Linked DNA regions of Homo sapiens: all the other regions are linked to region 2. The links are contacts of gene promoters, found by promoter capture Hi-C in blood cells and fetal thymus (Javierre and others, 2016). All regions are on one chromosome and are shown on one strand. The core of a region is centred on a gene start or on the middle of the fragment in contact, and the rest is flanking DNA. Distances in the headings are between cores, read along the strand shown. Region 1 overlaps NCOA7 (nuclear receptor coactivator 7). Region 2 holds the start of HEY2 (hes related family bHLH transcription factor with YRPW motif 2). Region 3 has its middle 140 kb from the start of LINC02523. Region 4 overlaps TRMT11 (tRNA methyltransferase 11). Region 5 has its middle 160 kb from the start of LINC02523. Region 6 has its middle 9.3 kb from the start of HINT3.

Region 1 (2,700 bases), core at 187-2,686, 170 kb after region 2:
GGAGTTCTCACAAGATCTGATGGTTTTAAAAGTGGCAGTTTCCGCTACGCTCGCTCGCTCTCCTGCCGCCTTGTGAAGAAGGTGCTTACCTCTCCTTTGCCTTCTGCCATGATTGTAAGTTTCCCAAGGCCTCCCCAGCTATGTGGAACTGTGAGCCAATTAAACCTCTTTTGTTTGTAAATTACTCAGTTTCAGGTAGCATCTTTATAGCAGTGTGAAAACGGACTAATACACAAGCTGTAGTTTGCCAGACCTCAGTTCCCTTCATCCAGTCAGGCAAGCATGTATCAAGTACTTCTTTAGGCGAGGGCCCTGGAAATACAATGATGGATAACATAGGCTCTCAATACTTAACAAGCTTGCAGCACTGGGAAATTGGGAGATGAGACTAGGAAAAATAGGTCTACCCCTCCTTCCTGTTCTGCTGCTCTCTTGAACCCCACTTAGCATTTCTTCTTTCCCAGCTTAGACAGATGGTAAATGAATTCAAACACATCCTTACCAGGACTCCTGAGTTCCTCCACCCCTCTCCCATCTACTGCACCCATCTAGCCTGCGTGCAATCCTGGATGAACCCACCCTCACACTTTTCTGCTCCTAGGCAGCCAAGCATTGCTGGAGAGAACCTGTCCACCAGGGAGAATGGTGCCATTACAAATACATGGTTCTGAATTCATCTGTGTCCATGTATAAGTGGCCCTGCAATACTAATTTAAACTCTTCACTCAATCTGTAGTTGCTTTTTTGATGTATGGTAGATGATATTTTTAATAGTCAATTTTTTTCCAGCACTATTTAATGATTTCCAATGTTTCCTTCATCATGTTGAAAGATCTTACATATGGACTGTGGGGCTGTATAACTTGTCATTTAAATATACAAGCAAGCTTGGATACTCTGTGCTTAAAAGCTTCAGTGGCCTCCTTATTGACTCTGCTGATTCTTACCCACCTGTTAGAATAACTACCTGGGAATTTTAAAAAACTGAATCCTAGATCCTTATTACTAGAGACATTAATTCAGTAGGTCTGGAGGGAGGAATGTTAGAATCTGTATTTTTCAAAGCTCCCAGATGATTTCCAAACAGTTATGTTTTGGAAACACTGACCTGTAGGGTAAGTTTTAAGCTCCTTCGTGGCATCAGGGCTCTTCTTTTTCTCTGCTCCTCCTACCTTTTCTGTCTCATCTACCTTCCTCATCACTGCTTTCCTTGCTGTCTCTTCTCCAGCCAATGTGAACCCAGAATCCATCTCTGCATTCCTGCTGTGCCCTGTCCCTGGAACATCTTCTCACACCCTATCCTTGCTCTCAAACTGAAGCACCATCTCCTCTGTGAATAAGCTATCTCAGAACCCCCCAGGTCACCCCAACCTCCTTTGAGTGTCTGCTGTAGATTTTGGCATCTGTATCCTATAAACCAAAAACAATGCCTGAGACAGATCTCAATCAATTTAGAGGTTTATTTTGCTAAGGTTGAGGATGCATCTGGTTAGGGAGGGAAAAAGAGACACAAGCCACAGTAGGATCTGTGTCCTGCACTTTTTCCAAAGAGGGTTTTGAGGGCTTCAGTATTTAAAGGGGGAAAAGTGGGCTGGAGAGGAAGGAGAAAAGAGGAGGGTAGAAAAAATGAGACAAACGGTTACTTTCTTGTGAGTCTTTGATTAGTGTGCACTGAATCCAAATGTTGCATGTGCAAAGGAGAGGGTAGAGGAACCCTCAATCATGTATGCCTTGTGCGCAGTAAATCTGCACTTTACATAAGATGAAGTAAACAGAGTCGTGGAAGAAGTCCAGTATGCATTGGTCTGGAGGTGAGCAGTAAGGTCAATTTCTAGTCTGCTCTTGTTTCCGACTTGTGAAAATAAGCTGTTAATTTACATTGTCCAGGTGAGGGAGACCACCTGGGGAGACAGCTGTTTAGAAACAAAAGGAAAGATGGTTTTTGTTTGTGTGGCTCAGTTTCAAAGCTTAATTTTCCCTTTTTTTGTAGTGAGTTTGTGATCCCAAGATTTTATTTTCCTTTTACAATCACATGGAATGGCACCCATTTATTTAGAATTGTTTCTCTACTGTCTCCTCACCTGCTGGAGACTGTGAGCAGCTTTATGTCTCTGTGCCTGGCAAAGCACCTGGCACCCACCATCATATAGGAAATAATAAATGTCCGCTGTCCTGGAGTCCCAGGGGCCCAGAGGAGAGTGTTGTCTTGCTGGCATTCTGTCCCAGGTTGTGCTCAGGCTGTTGCATTGAGAGTCAGTTCTGCTGGCCGTGGACTGGTCTCTAAGTATCTGCTAGAGTCTTCTTTATAACCCCCAGTGTGAGCAATACAATACACTCTGATCCCCGCAGCTGTGCCCAAGACTGAAAGGCCACTTCGGATCTGGAAGAATCACAGAAATATCACTGAAAATTGATCCAGTGCTGATCTGTATTTCTTTCTAACCTCCTGACATGTGATCTGAAGTGTAGAGGAGGACTCATCCTGCTTATTAGTCATTAAAACTAATTCCAAAATGTAAAAAGATAAGTATTACTCTGCCAACTGTTTTATAAAACTACATGTAAGATGACATCTTTCACAACCTCATGTAAACCAGATGTTTTCCCATTCTTTTAAGTCCCTCCCACCAACAAACATGACATAGTATTGAAGTGAAATGCCGTTTGTTCTAACTGTAATGAAGCCTACCTCCACCGAAG
Region 2 (2,700 bases), core at 196-2,695:
GCCAAACCCCGCCAGGGTCCCGTCTTTCCCAGTCGCGTCCTTTCCTCTTCTCCCCGCCCCGCGCCGGGCTTGTGTGGACAGAGAACGGAGTGTCAAAGGGACGCCCTGGGCCGATCCCCAGGAAGCTATGAATCCCTCCGTGACGGAGGGGTCTGGGGATCGATAGACGGCCCTTTCTCAGAGGCTCTCTCCACTACTGACCAAGCGGCCCTGCCAACGTGTGGTTTCCGGCTGGACCCCAACCCAGCCGCCGCCAGTCTCCCGGCGCCCCTGGCTGGGTCTCGCTCAGTCCCTGCCCTCGCAGACGCACAGCGGGGTGGCCAGTTCAAAAGTCCTACATAACTTGGAGAGAACCAGCAGCTAGAAAACCTGTTTTAAACACACAGCTTGAGTTTTATACAACCCACGTTGTCCAAGGCACGAACTGTTGGACACGAATTCATACTTTAGAAACCAAATCTAATTTCCAAGCGCCAATCTTCACCTCCCGGACTCTAACTCTGCGGCTGCGAGTGCATACACCAGGGGGACTGGAGGAGACTGGAGGCAATTATCTGGATAATCCAAGCCCGAAAAACTCGAACTTGAAAATATACGATTATGTCCTGAAATGCCCGCGTCATTGATCTAGTCTTTCCTACCATCAGAGCTGACACAGCTCCAGTCCACGGGCTTCTCCGCGGGGTCTAGGATCCACAGTCCCTGGGGGCTGAAGACCCAATGGAAGTAACTGATGGATCGCAAATTGGAAATCGTAACGTGGCCGACAGACCTGATCAGGAAAACTCGCGTCCTTATATGAAACAGCCCCGAGGCCGCGAAAGTAGCCTCAGGAGTTGTCAGATTCAAAAGCAATTTTGATTTAAGGTTTTCAAAAGCCCCAGAGGGCAAATGTGACCACTCGGGTCAGCCAGTCAGCAGTTTGGATCCAGACAGGGGACCACCGAGTGGGGCGGCCGAGGAGCCGCGGCGCCTCCCGACGTCACACGCGCCTGCTCGCACTTAGCCACGCGCTTGGGGTTATTCTTTACACTCAGGACTGAAACTTCGCCCGCGAGACCGCGGGGCGCGGAGGAGGGCCGAAACCCAAGGTCCAGGTCCAGGGCCCGCCCCCGCGCGCCCGCGTTGGCGCCCGCGCGCTCCCTCCGCAGGGGTTAGCAAGATTGCGCTCATTCTCGCCCCGGCTGCTCCCCACCCGCTCGCTGCTCTGGGGTACCAGGTCCGCGGCCGCGTTCCCACGCCTCGGCTGGAGCCTTGCGGCGGGCATTGGCGAGCGCGGCCCCGCCCCCTGGCCCAGCCAATCGCGAGCCACGCCGACCAGCGAGGGGGAGGTGCCGGGCGGAAGGCCTGGGCCGGTGCGCGGGGGCGGGTGAGGTGGCCCCACCCGCTCGAGGGGGGGGCGTGGCCGGCGCCGGCTCTTGCGGCCGAGCAGAGTTGCGGCGTGGGAAAGAGCCGCTAGGAGCAGACCGCGCCGCCGCCGGAGCCGCGCCTGCCCAGGCCCGGGGAGGGAGGAGGCGGGCGTCAGGGTGCTGCGCCCCGCTCGGCGTCCGAGCTTCCGGCCGGGCTGTGCCCCGCGCGGTCTTCGCCGGGATGAAGCGCCCCTGCGAGGAGACGACCTCCGAGAGCGACATGGACGAGACCATCGACGTGGGGAGCGAGAACAATTACTCGGGGTGAGCGCGGGCTCCGCGGGAGCGGCCCGCAGCTCGGGAGCTTGGGGTAGCTTTGTGAATGCGTGGCTCCCTGGAAATCCCGAGGCTGGTCTCCGCAGCATCTAGGTAGAGAGGGAAAGTTTGGCCTGAGAAAGTTTGAGTGGTGGGCGCTCGCAGAGCGTGAGTTGGGATGGGGCAAGGGATGTGGATTTTCACCGTAGGGGTGGAGTAGCCAGGATGGGAGACGCCACTGAAAGGCAGAGCGCAGGAGTTGGCGAGGGAGGGTCCTGGCTGTCACAGTTGGACGCGCGAACGGCAGCGTCTGGGCGACAGGCGATGTCCCAGCCACTGAAACCGTATTTGGGGGCACTTTCAAAATAGATCAGGAGAAAATAAAAACAATTTGATTTTTGATTTTTAGAGATACCAAAATCACAACTTGATTTTTGGAGGAATTAAAGCAACCTGCGATGTCAAGGCTACGTAGGTTGAACTTTGCAGGTTGACCGTGTGTGACTTGGCTAACGCAAGAGTGAGTGACAGATGTAAGCATCGGAAAGGGCATCATTTCTTTGACTGCTTGTTCTCAAGTCTGGAAGAGATCGGCGTCGTAATCACAGAAGCCAGACCTCCACTTTCCTGTGACAGAGGGAGATTACCGAGGCATTTTAGAGCCAAGGCGGGTCAAATGATAATTGCTTCTAATTGGCATCCCCAGAAGCACCTTAATTATTTATCTGCAGCTGTCACTCAAAGAGGGAAATTCTTCCTACCTTTGGAAAACTGGTTTTCTTTCATATTGTTATTCTAATACATACAAAGCAAAGCACAAAATCTGCAAGAGCAAAGATATTTACACGAAAGCAAAGGTTTAAGTATCTGATCATTAAAGTGTTGTTGTGCCGTCTTTAAAAATGAGGTCTGAAAAACAGAAGCTATCACGTGAAAGGTGAAACCCGTAAAGAAGGGGTGAAAATGAGGGGGACAGGTAATTCAGAAATAAGATCCAGAAGTGAGAAGGTGAGGTAATAGCAACCTGGTGTGTGCA
Region 3 (2,700 bases), core at 4-2,503, 220 kb before region 2:
CCATACTAGGCTAGAACAGTACATGTATTATTTACCATTGCATCCCCTACTGTGTCCAACACAGTGCCCTGAATTTACTGGGTACAGAACAAATGTTTGATGAATGAATGAATGCATTCATGGGAAACCTTTCCGTTCCTTTGTACCTAGCACCTCCCTGATCCTAGGTTGGAAACACACATCCTTAAGGCAGGCTATAAAATACCTTCATCTTTAATCCTTATCCCCCTCCACAGACACCCACACCCTCTGACCAGGCATTTATCTCAGGGCACAAAATGCCATTTGCCTGCTGATCAAAGGCTGTGGGAATGGGCGGCAGGAGCAGCTGTGCTCAGATCCCGCCCACACCCTTCCTGTTTGCAGCAGCCCACCCCAGGGGCTATTATGCTTTCGGCAGGCTAAGGAGAGTCCCTCCTCCCTCCCCTCCTTCCCTGGTCCTTGCAGACACTGTGGGTCTGAAGTGGCAGCCCCTCGCCCCTGGAGCCTGCTCTCAGCATTTCATTGTCCCCAGGCAAGACATAGATAGCGGGCCAGACGCTCCTTTCCCCTTTCCTGGGACTCTGATAAGGCAATGAAAACAGTTCTCTATTTTCCTGCACAAAAGCTGACATACAAGAATGGGGTGGAGCATAAGTGATAACCAGCTAGAATTTGTTGCTTTTTAAAAGAAATGTGGTGGGGAAGGAAAGAGTGAAGACTAAAAGCTTTGAGTTTCTGCTCTGGGTTGTAAGAGGCAAACATCTTCCCATGACAATGCCCCCTTTTCAGTCTTAGAGGCTCATTTCCTTTCTGTAAGGGAAAACACTGTCCTCAGGTCAGAGGGCCACAAGAGACTCCTCCTAAGGTTGGCCAGGCCACCTGGGAGCCTCTCATGTGACCCATTTACCTAAAGCGTAGCTTACAGATCAGAATTAAGAGAGAGGGAAGAAGACAAGAATTTCTTCCTCCGTGTTTAATCCATTCCAGTCAGGATTCTCATTCTTTGGAACCCGTCTGTCTGGTCAATTTCAAGATGCGTGTGCGTGAATGTAGGGAGCTTCATATAAACCCCACACACTCTCAGTTTCCTCCAAGTGTCCCGTCCCTGATAAGGGGCTCCTTAAATAAACAAAACGATCTGCACAGTCCAAGTTATTTTTAGAGAGAATTCCTTCAGAGATGTAGCTGGTGTTTGGTAAATGCAGAGGTTAAAAAAAAATGGAGTGAAGAGATGGAGGATCGCTGTTTCTATGTAGAACTGAATAAAAATGGAATAGAGAAATACAATTTTTAAAAATGTCTTCTGGAAATACAACTTTAAAAAGTGTTTTCACTGCCCTGAGACTGGTGCTGGCCTCCTGCTGCCACCACTAGTTCTGGAACCTGGTGCAGTTAAAGAAACCTTCAGACTTCATCTTCTTCATTAGAAAAAGAAGGCTATTTCCTGAGCCCAATTTAAGGAAATTAATTGTTCTGGGGGTAGAGTCTCAGTATTGGTACTGATTTTTAAAGCAACCAAGATGATTCTAATGTACTGTCAGGGTTGAGAATCTGTGAACAAGATCATCTCTGAGGTTTATCCCCTGGTTCTAAAATTTTGTAGTTCCATAGTTTAGGTACCAAGTTTTTCTATCTAATCTCTATCATTTATCTAAAAACTTTATTTGGAGCTCCTTACTATCCCCAAGTCTTTCCAGAATTAGTGAAGAAAGACATTCAACAACTGGCCATGACTGCTTCTCCTTCCACTCTTGGAACAGAAGAGCAGGTTGTTGAGTATTTGCTCAATAACCCAGGGACCCAGTTTCCGAAGACATGTAAGCTTGGAGGCCTCTAGAGAATTAAAGGAGGGTCATATTCACAAACTTAACTTACCCAAGACAAATATAAAACTCTGTTCAAATACATACAGTGAGGAGAAGCAGACACAGACGTAGAACAACCCTGCTAGGCAATTTAGAGTCCTATCCATTTTTTGTCATGAAATAGGCAGTATTGGACAAGTGCATCCCAGCAATCACAGATTGAGATGGGCCTCCTCTATTTTCCTTGAGAAAACACTTGATTGTCTTTACAAATTGCACCATTTTAGATTTTTGCTTCTGAATTTGCAATATAAATTATTCTTAGGATCTTTCGGTTTCCCACGATGCCCTCTTTCATCAATTTTCCTGGCTAGAGTCTAAGATTCATATTCCTTTTTTCACTCCGAAATTGCTCATTTTTCCTCTAGAGAGGCTCTTCCACCACTGAGCGGTCTTGGCAGCGGCTCTTTGTGACAGTTGCCTATAGGCATTCCCAATTCTCGAGTGGTTTTAAAATCAAGTATGCAGCTGAATAAATAGAAAAGGAGCAAACAGCACAAAATTAAGTAAAATACCAAATATCTCATACAAATGGAATAGACAATAAAAGCAAAAGATAGAGATGATTGTGTCAACTTAGATGTTTAGAATAAAATCTCAGGAATTGGAAAAGATTCTATCAGCTATATAGGTCAAAATCCCAACCCATGCTCCCTTCAGCATCTTCAGCATCCAGCATCTGCGTAAACATCCACTGAGGAAGTTCACTCTCACAAGGCGTACCATTCCAGGTTTGATTTACTTTAATTGAAATCCACTTGAAGTCAAATATCAAATTAGAAGCACTGTGGATAATAGTGAAGCCCTAAAGAAAACATCAGTTCATAGCGCAAGAAGAGAAAAAACACAACTC
Region 4 (2,700 bases), core at 34-2,533, 240 kb after region 2:
TCCTGTGGGTCTGTTTCTATTGTTTCTTTTTGTTCTGTTTCATATAGTGGGCTATTTTTAAAATATATGCCAGATGTTGTATTTGAAAATTTATTTGAAAAAATAATTTGAGGGCTGGGATGATGTACATCCTCTTCAAGAAGATAGGAACGCATAGGAGCATGAGGAATCTAGGTTGGGTTTAACTCATTTTCAGGTGTTAAGCCCTGTTTGTGTTCTGATTCCCAGGTACTCACAGAGTGTAGCTTTTTGACATCCTAGTGTAAATTAGGTGGTTCATCAAGTATCCTTTTCTCCTCTGGGGGGCCCTTTCTCTTTTTTTCCCTTTCTATCGGGCACTCAGAAGGGCTGTTCACTCTTGCAGCTGTTTTTGGATTTGTAAATGTCTCAGGGAAAAAGTGGCTCCACCTTGGAATTTTTGTCCTCTCCTGGATGTTGGTTTGGTAATTTTTGTTATCTTTCTATGCCTTCAATTAGATGGCCAGCTTTTCTAGTTCTTTTCAGCAAGAAGCTTAATCTGAATTACCTCTTTTGCCATACCTGGAAGTTGAATTCCTGTCATTGGGTTAGATTTTTTTCAGGGATTGAGGCAGTTTCCATGAAACTTTACTTCTCAAACTGAAGTAATCTTTTACTCTCTTGTACTCTAATACTTTTTTGCTTTTACCTGTTTAAGAACATGTACTGTTTTTTACACTTTACATTTCAGTTGTGAGGTGGTTTTGTTGGTTCTACTAGACCATAATTTCCCTAAGATAAATGTGTGTGTATTTTTACATAGATCAGGGACTTGCACATATTAGTTGCTTAAAAATTTTTTTGGGGGTCCGGGCGCAGTGGCTCACTCCTGTAATTCCAGTACTTTGGGAGGCTGAGGCGGGCGGATCACAAGGTCAGGAGTTCGAGACCAGTCTGGCCAACATAGTGAAACCCCATCTCTACTAAAAATACAAAAAATTAGCCAGATGTGGTGGTGTGCGCCTGTAATCTCAGCTACCCAAGAGGCTGAGGCAGGAGAATCGCATGAACCTGGGAGGTGGAGGTTGCAGTGAGCCGAGATCACACCATCGCACTCCAGCCCGGGTGACAGTGTGAGACTCCATCTCAAAAAAAAAAAAAAAATTTTTTTTGGAGACTGTTCTCTCTCTGTTTTCCAGGCTACAGTGCAGTGGCGTGACCGTGGCTCACTGCAGCCTCAAAGACCCAAGTTAAGCCATCCTCCCACCTTAGCTTCCTGAGTAGCTGGGACTACAGGTGCACCACTATGTCTGGCTAATTTTTTTATTTTTATTTTTGTGGAGCCGGGTGTTAATCAGAGGCTGAGTGTTGGTGTGAGGGGGCGGGAGGGGGTCTTGGGAGCTCTCACTGTGTTGCCAGGGTTGGTCTCAGACTCCCGGTCTCAAGTTATCTCTTTGCCTCGGCCTCCCAAAGTGCTGGGATTGCAGGTGGAGCCGCCATACCTGGCTGCTTAAAATATTAAAATCAGTGATATAGAATCTCTTCTGGGAAAGGCAATGCAAAGGACAGTCTATCCTTTTGGGCCCAGCTACTGCATTAGAACTGATAAGCAAGGAAGCTATAATGAATGGCTGCCTTTATGAATTAAAATGAGAGATCAGGAATATAAGTGTGGTCCAGTTTTACCTCTGATAGAGTTAATCAGGGCTAAGTATAGTTGGCAGCTACTTAATGTAGTACTTATTGTACTAAATAGTGTTTACTAAAGTTCAAACTCCTGGGTTTTATTGCTTGTCCTGAAGCAACCTTTTAAATGGATGAAAAAGCAAGTAGCTGAAATAATAGAAAAGCTCATGGAATTAACGCATCACACATGCCCCAGATCATGCTACATTTTTATATCCAATGTTCAATATAAATTATTTTTTATTCCTAATATAGAAAGAGTCTCAACTGGAAAGTTGAATTTGCCATAAGATTAATGAACATTTTGTGTTTTGCTTTTTCCAAGTAGATTGATGAAGTGGTTTAAACATGTTTTGCTTTTCAATTTGAAACTTGGGTTATCATATTTATTCTCAGTTTTAGGTGGCTGCTTAAGCTTTGGGTAGTAGAGATAATGCTATGCCATAAAACTTTAATCTTTCACTTTTTTTCCCCACCTAACTCTTAGGATCTTTGTGTTTTAGCTTGTTGCAGCTTTTTAACAGTATATTCCAGGAGCAGCAAACTTTGGTGTTTTAACTTGGTTATAGTTGGATGTTTTAAATGTAAAACTGACTTTACAATATGCTTTAATATAGAACAAACAACAATCATGCAAGATGAAGTAATTTAATCTATAACTTTATTTTTTTTCTTTTAAGTGCTATAACTCTATCAGTCTTGGTTGACTTCTTGAGCCACTGGACTTCTAGGACAGTTATCAGGGTCCTCATCATTTTGATTCCCTTAATAACCACCTAGGTTCTATGCTTCTCTCTTTATAGTTCACCTAACCTGATGAGGTAGCTATGATTCCTGTTTCACATTTGAGGGAACTAAAAGTTGGAGGATTTAAGATTCTTGTATAAAGCCACATCGCTAGTATTTGGAAGAGCTGAAAATCAGATTATGGTCTATTTAATTTCTAAGTCTCATGATGTCTCCTATTCAGATTTGTGTTTTCCTTGCTGCAAAATAACCTTTGGGCTGCCTTCACTGATTTATCAGTAGTCTGTGATAGTTCTTGGTCGATCCATC
Region 5 (2,700 bases), core at 103-2,602, 240 kb before region 2:
TGGTGCAGAAAGAAAGGACCCTGAAGTGAAGGCCATTACTGCCCTATCAAGATTTCTTCTTCAGCCTGGTGCTGAGAATGTTGGTTGCTAAAGGCTCATGGCTGCCCCCTTCCCTAGAGAATTTCCTTTGACAAAATGACAACTTCTTCTAGGTGAGGGGGGCACCAACTTTATTAAGAAGCTCAGTGGTGTCTGTCCTTTGTAGATCAGTACTGATGATCATTATTGATTCTGTTATAGATCTGTGCTCCCTGACAGTAATGGAAATAGTAAGATCTCAAAATAGCAGAGGACAGATGGCAGCACTTGACCATCAGAAGCAAGGTGGGCATGATTATCAAAATGCACAGCACGTAGCAGGCTCTGATCAGTAGGGATTTAAGGAGATGGCTAGTAGAATATGTTGATTGTAGGGCGAGATCAATGGGCAAGCAATAAGTGTTTTGCTTAATATATATAATCAATCCAAATATATTTAAAAAAAGATGATCAGAATACTAAGGTCAGCCACCTCAATGGAAAGTCAGGATTCCTTGCCCAGTTTACAGGCTTAGCTTGTCCTCAGTTCCATAACCTATTGCTTGAAGTAGTGGTCAAGTTCCTACAAGAAAGTTCCTTAAAACACCATGGAAAGTTTATACAGCAGTGATTCCTCCAGCCTTTCTCCAAAGGGATAAATAGCCATTTACCTGGGTAAACATAAACTGGGAAAAGTGAGATGTTTAATCAGGAATCTGAGTTGACTGCAATAGCTAGGGACCTCAAGTACCATCATGGATCCTCTCATTAGAGTAAAGCTATATACGGGTCAGAAGTTCTAGCATATGTCCGTCTCAAAGTGGGTCCACAGGGTCCGTGAACCCACCCTATAGTTATTTCCTGGCTAGAAAAATTTATAATCAGAATACACAAACTTAAAATTTGGAAGAACCCTCACATTGAGTAGTAGAGAAAACATGTGTTATAGTAGGTGACATGGTTTGGCTCGGTGCCCCCACCCAAATCTCATCTCGAATTGTAATTCCCACATGTCATGGGAGGGACATGTAATCCCCATGTGTGGAGGGAGGATTGCCCCCATGCTGTTTATGTGATAGTGAGTTCTTATGAGATCTGACGGTTTTATAAGCGGCAGTATCCCCTCTCCTTTCTCTTCTCCTCTCTTTTCTCTTCTCCTCTCTTTTCTCTTCTCCTCTCTTCTCTCTCCTGCAGCCTTGTGAGGAAGGTGTCTGCTTCCCCTTCTGCCATGATTTTAAGTTTCCTGAGGCCTCCCCAGCCCTGCAGAACTGTGAGTCAATTTAACCTCTTTCCTTTATAAATTACCCAGTCTCAGGGCAGGCAGTTCTTTACAGTAGTGTGAAAACAAACAAAAACAGTAGGAAAATCCAAATGAATATCTCTGAAACTTCCAAGACAATACATCAAAAGCAATATCACATCCTAGGTAAAAAGGCAGAAATGGATACACCCCCAGAAAACTTTAAGGGATGAATGGATCACAGTGCCCATAAGTCCCATTTAATTCACTCATCATGAAATGTCCGTAGACAGAATGACTCAGCCAGTTGATGTCAGCCTCTAAACTCCACCTTCCTGGCTAACCAGATGCTGGAAAACCTTTTTCTGGATAGAGTAGATTTCATGTGAGAAACAACTGGGTACAAGTGGTACAAGGGATAAACTCTCATAAATCTGTTGGTGCCCTGCCAAACTCTCCTGTTTTCCAGGCCAGTGATCTCATCCTGCAGCTACTGTAAGTTCATCTGCTAATGGATTACAGCTGCTCCCATTTCTGGAGAATTGTCCTTAACCAAATGGGAACTACATCACCTGAGAGATAACACAACTCACCCCTAACAGGGTCAGCCTGCAGTCAATGACTCACTGACATGGTCAACAAAGGGCTATGCCAAATCTGTGGTTCAATTCATATTCCAGAGCTCCCATGGGATCAGGCTGAAGAGCGCTCCAACTGATACTGTATTCCTGTTTACTCCTTCTTTTGTTCTGTCTTGCTTCCCTCACTCCCTTTCTCTTGAGAGGACTTTCTCAATAAATTATGTGCACTAAAATTCTTGCCTCAGGCTCTGCTTCTAGAGAACATGACCCAAGATAGAATCCTAGTGCTGATTGCCAAGGAATGCTCTTTAGAGAATAAAGTGCCTAATATGAGACTTGAAGTATTAAAGACTAAAATAAAAGTCAGAAATGGACATTACTTAATATCTTGGTTTTCGCATCTTTGTACTTAGAGTTTCTCCATTGAGAAAGAGATTTTCAAGGATGATCAATTTCCACCAAGTATTCTTCGTGATAATCTGGAATTTATTTAATCTGGAATTTAGTTAATTGCAGAAAAATCCAAATTTGTGGCAACATTTGTCAGCATGAAAAAACAGTCATTTCTTTTTCGTGAAATATAAACTAATTCATGTATCCATTTAATTAACAACTACTTTCTGAATACTAATTAGAACTGGGCATTGTGTTGCCTGCTAGGGACTCAAGAGGGAGCCAGACTGTCTCCTGCCCTTTCAGAGTTTAGTAGCATCTGAGTCTCTCTCAGTTTGTCTAGAAAGGTGAGAGCCCAGAAGGGAGAAACCTGTGGCTTTCCGAGGGGAGGGTAATATGAGTGGTCTTCCCAAGTAAAGACAGGTGGAGACACTATCTGTAGAGAATCTAAAACAGTGACAAAAAATA
Region 6 (2,700 bases), core at 145-2,644, 200 kb after region 2:
GAGCAGTGTGTGTGGAGAGAAAAGCTTGAAAGAAGAGAAGGTTTACAAGAGAACGGGAGGAAAGAAATTGGAGAGAGCTAGTATGGACACTTATTTCAAGATTTCCTGCTAAGAGCAACAAATACATGGGACAGGTCCTGGTGGGAAAAGTAGGCTCAAAAGAAAGTTTCATTTCATTTTTCTAGAGTGGAAGAAATTATAGCATGTTTGTAAGTGGATAGAATGATCCAGTAAAGATAATAAAATACATGATGTAAGACATAAGGGGAATTTCTGAAGTGGTGTTCTTGCGTGAGCAAGAAGGAATGGGATCTAGCATGTAAGTGGAGGAATTAGTTTTGATATGAGCACAGACTGTTTATCTTTGGTATCAGTCAGGAAGGCCAAGTATATGAGTCATCATTTTGGAGGGAGTCAGTTGAAGTTCTCTTCTGAGAGCTTCAATTTTCCCATTACGCCCTTTATCCTTGCTCATGTGAATTACACGGGAAGCATCAGAGTCCCAGGGCACCCCTTATTTCCAGCTCTCTAACCCTCATAGAGCTCTGTAATTCCCATAAATGGTCTCCTATCCTCCCTCCTGAAACTCTTTCTTTACGTTATCAGAAATGTAGAGTGCATCATGTCAGTTGTGTAGGAGAGTGTTTATTTTCCTGTGCCCTCGCAATACAAATGCTATTGCATAAAGGAATCTTTGCCAATTTAATTGGGGAAAGGCTTATTTCACTGTTATTTAACGTAGACTTCTTCAATTTCTAGTAAGGATGAATATTTTCTTCACATTTTTAAATGGTACTTTTTCTTTTAATTAATTACTTTCATAAAAGCTGCTTATTTTTCTGCTAGGGTTTTCAACTGTTTTTTTTTTTTTTTTTTTTTTTTTTTTTTTTTGAGATAGGATCTTGCCCTGTAGCCCAGGCTGGAGTGCAGTGGCATGATCTCAGCTCAGTGCAGCCTCTGCCTTGTGGGTTCACGCGATTCTCCTGCCTCAGCTACCTGAGTAATTGGGACTATAGGCGTGCACCACCATGTCCAGCTAATTTTTGTATTTTTAGTACAGATAGGATTTCACCATGTTGCCCAGGCTGGTCTCAAACTACTGGCTTCAAGTGATCCACCTGCCTCGACCTCCCAAAGTGCTGGGATTGCAGGTGTGAGCCACTGTGCTGGCCTCAATTCTTTCTCATTGTTTTGTAAGAACTCTTCCTAGATAAGTTTATTAATACTATTTTTCACGCATGATGCAAATATTTTCACTCAAATTTCCACTTTTCTTTCAATGCAGTTTTTGGCACTTTTACATACTTTAAAAAATCTTATTTTACATCAATCAGTAATTTATTTAATGGAATCCATTTTGAGCACTTAGGCCCTTTCCTTGCCACCCCCAAGGCAAAGTAAATATTCACCCACATCTTAAAGAAACCCGTAACAGTTCTTTGGTTTCAGTTGTTGCATTTAAATAGTTAATTTCAACAGAAGTATATCTGAGTGCATGGTATAAAGAAGAGATATAATTTTTTTTGCCCCCTGAAATGGTGGCCAGTTGTCACAACTGTCTTTATGAGCTAATTTCTTGTACTAGAAGGGTCCACTATCCCTTTCTAAGGGTACGGCCCAGCCAGCAGTTTCCTGCTGAGAGAAGATGCCCTGGAATGCTCTTGAGAAAGGATTGGTCATCAGTTAGGTTGGGCCTCTGTGCCAAGGCAGCCTCTTAGGTTCATGACAGCCTGCCAGGAACAGCTCCACCCAGAATACTGATATTAACTGGTATTTGAAGCAGCAATAAAAAGAGTATTATGCATTTAGCATCACGGAGAGAAATAAAAACCCACAAAAAGAAAAGTTGAATTTGAAAGGACAATACCAGTAGCTATGCCATTAGTGATGCCATTGAGAAAATCAGATTTCACTGTACATTTTTAAATATGTACAATCCATCTATCCATTCCCACAATTAATGTTTTTCCACAGCCTACTGTGTGCCAGATACCAGGCTGGATGTTTTGATAAACAAGACCACGTCCCACCCACAGGGAATTTACATTCAAATAAGTATTGGGAGCTGACAGGAACATCTAGAAAGCATCATCCTATGTATAGGATTTAAACAGCATATAATAATGGAATAATTTAACAATCCATTTAACATACCAGGATACACAGCTTGCAAACTGAAGCAAGTGTATAAAATTTTTAAAATGTGATAGAGGTAGAGTTAGAAAGCTGGTGGGGAAAGAATGGTAAGTTAGTTGAGTTTCCTGAGGTTTCAAGGAATGGAGACACCTGAGCAACTTAACATGAAAGAAATTTATTTACTTTGAGTTGGTAACAGTCACTTTGCTCAGCCACTCCGGTATCTCTACCTCTTCTGGCCTTTATCAGTGTAGCTCATAGTCTCTGATATTTTTTACATAACTTCTCTTTTTTCCTATGAATAATCTCTTTGGTTATTAACTTACTGACTTAAATTCCTTTTTTATCATTCTCTCTTAAACCAACAGGAATCAGCCTTTCTTCCCACCTCTAACACTAAAACTGCTTTTATCAGCTTTTCCAATGACCTTAGGTCAATTCTGAGTCTTCCTCTTTCTCATGCTATTACTGGCCTTTGGCATAGTTGATCACGCCTTCCTATTTGAAACACTCTTTGCTTTGCCTTCAGGACACCATTCTCTCCTTGTTCTCCTGTGTCATAGG

The links. Contacts are between HindIII fragments. The CHiCAGO score rates a contact against its expected background, and 5 or more counts as called.
Region 1: a fragment that was not itself captured here is called in contact with the fragment with the promoter of HEY2 in region 2 in 1 of 17 cell types (total B cells); the score reaches 5.6 in total B cells.
Region 3: a fragment that was not itself captured here is called in contact with the fragment with the promoter of HEY2 in region 2 in 2 of 17 cell types (megakaryocytes and erythroblasts); the score reaches 12.6 in megakaryocytes.
Region 4: a contact is called between a fragment that was not itself captured here and the fragment with the promoter of HEY2 in region 2, in 9 of 17 cell types (total B cells, activated CD4 T cells, non-activated CD4 T cells and 6 more). The highest score is 12.3, in total B cells.
Region 5: a contact is called between a fragment that was not itself captured here and the fragment with the promoter of HEY2 in region 2, in 4 of 17 cell types (megakaryocytes, erythroblasts, endothelial precursors and 1 more). The highest score is 8.1, in megakaryocytes.
Region 6: a fragment that was not itself captured here is called in contact with the fragment with the promoter of HEY2 in region 2 in 4 of 17 cell types (total B cells, naive B cells, activated CD4 T cells and 1 more); the score reaches 6.5 in total B cells.

What each region holds. Positions count from the first base shown.
Region 1 is chr6:125,916,152-125,918,851 of GRCh38, forward strand. The region is part of intron 11 of NCOA7 (nuclear receptor coactivator 7); the gene reads left to right. LOC124901397 (a long non-coding RNA gene) reads right to left here. Exons shown (of 2, transcript XR_007059741.1): 1 at 2,690-2,700; 2 at 2,029-2,380. Among named protein-coding and RNA genes, the nearest start is that of HINT3, 39 kb to the right of the region's middle. RefSeq lists an enhancer at 2,068-2,700. The HindIII fragment of the contact is 1,057 bases long and covers 909-1,965 here.
Region 2 is chr6:125,748,187-125,750,886 of GRCh38, forward strand. HEY2 (hes related family bHLH transcription factor with YRPW motif 2) reads left to right here and starts at 1,446. Exons shown (of 5, transcript NM_012259.3): 1 at 1,446-1,673. The coding sequence starts at 1,591. HEY2-AS1 (HEY2 antisense RNA 1) reads right to left here and starts at 1,239. Exons shown (of 5, transcript NR_183491.1): 1 at 773-1,239. RefSeq lists a silencer at 955-1,664. The HindIII fragment of the contact is 5,509 bases long and covers 1-2,700 here.
Region 3 is chr6:125,528,431-125,531,130 of GRCh38, forward strand. No RefSeq gene overlaps it. Among named protein-coding and RNA genes, the nearest start is that of LINC02523, 140 kb to the right of the region's middle. RefSeq lists an enhancer at 1-848. The HindIII fragment of the contact is 1,097 bases long and covers 706-1,802 here.
Region 4 is chr6:125,990,140-125,992,839 of GRCh38, forward strand. The region is part of intron 1 of TRMT11 (tRNA methyltransferase 11); the gene reads left to right. Among named protein-coding and RNA genes, the nearest start is that of TRMT11, 5.0 kb to the left of the region's middle. The HindIII fragment of the contact is 1,548 bases long and covers 510-2,057 here.
Region 5 is chr6:125,510,311-125,513,010 of GRCh38, forward strand. No RefSeq gene overlaps it. Among named protein-coding and RNA genes, the nearest start is that of LINC02523, 160 kb to the right of the region's middle. The HindIII fragment of the contact is 4,089 bases long and covers 1-2,700 here.
Region 6 is chr6:125,946,096-125,948,795 of GRCh38, forward strand. No RefSeq gene overlaps it. Among named protein-coding and RNA genes, the nearest start is that of HINT3, 9.3 kb to the right of the region's middle. RefSeq lists enhancers at 103-597, 248-542. The HindIII fragment of the contact is 2,744 bases long and covers 23-2,700 here.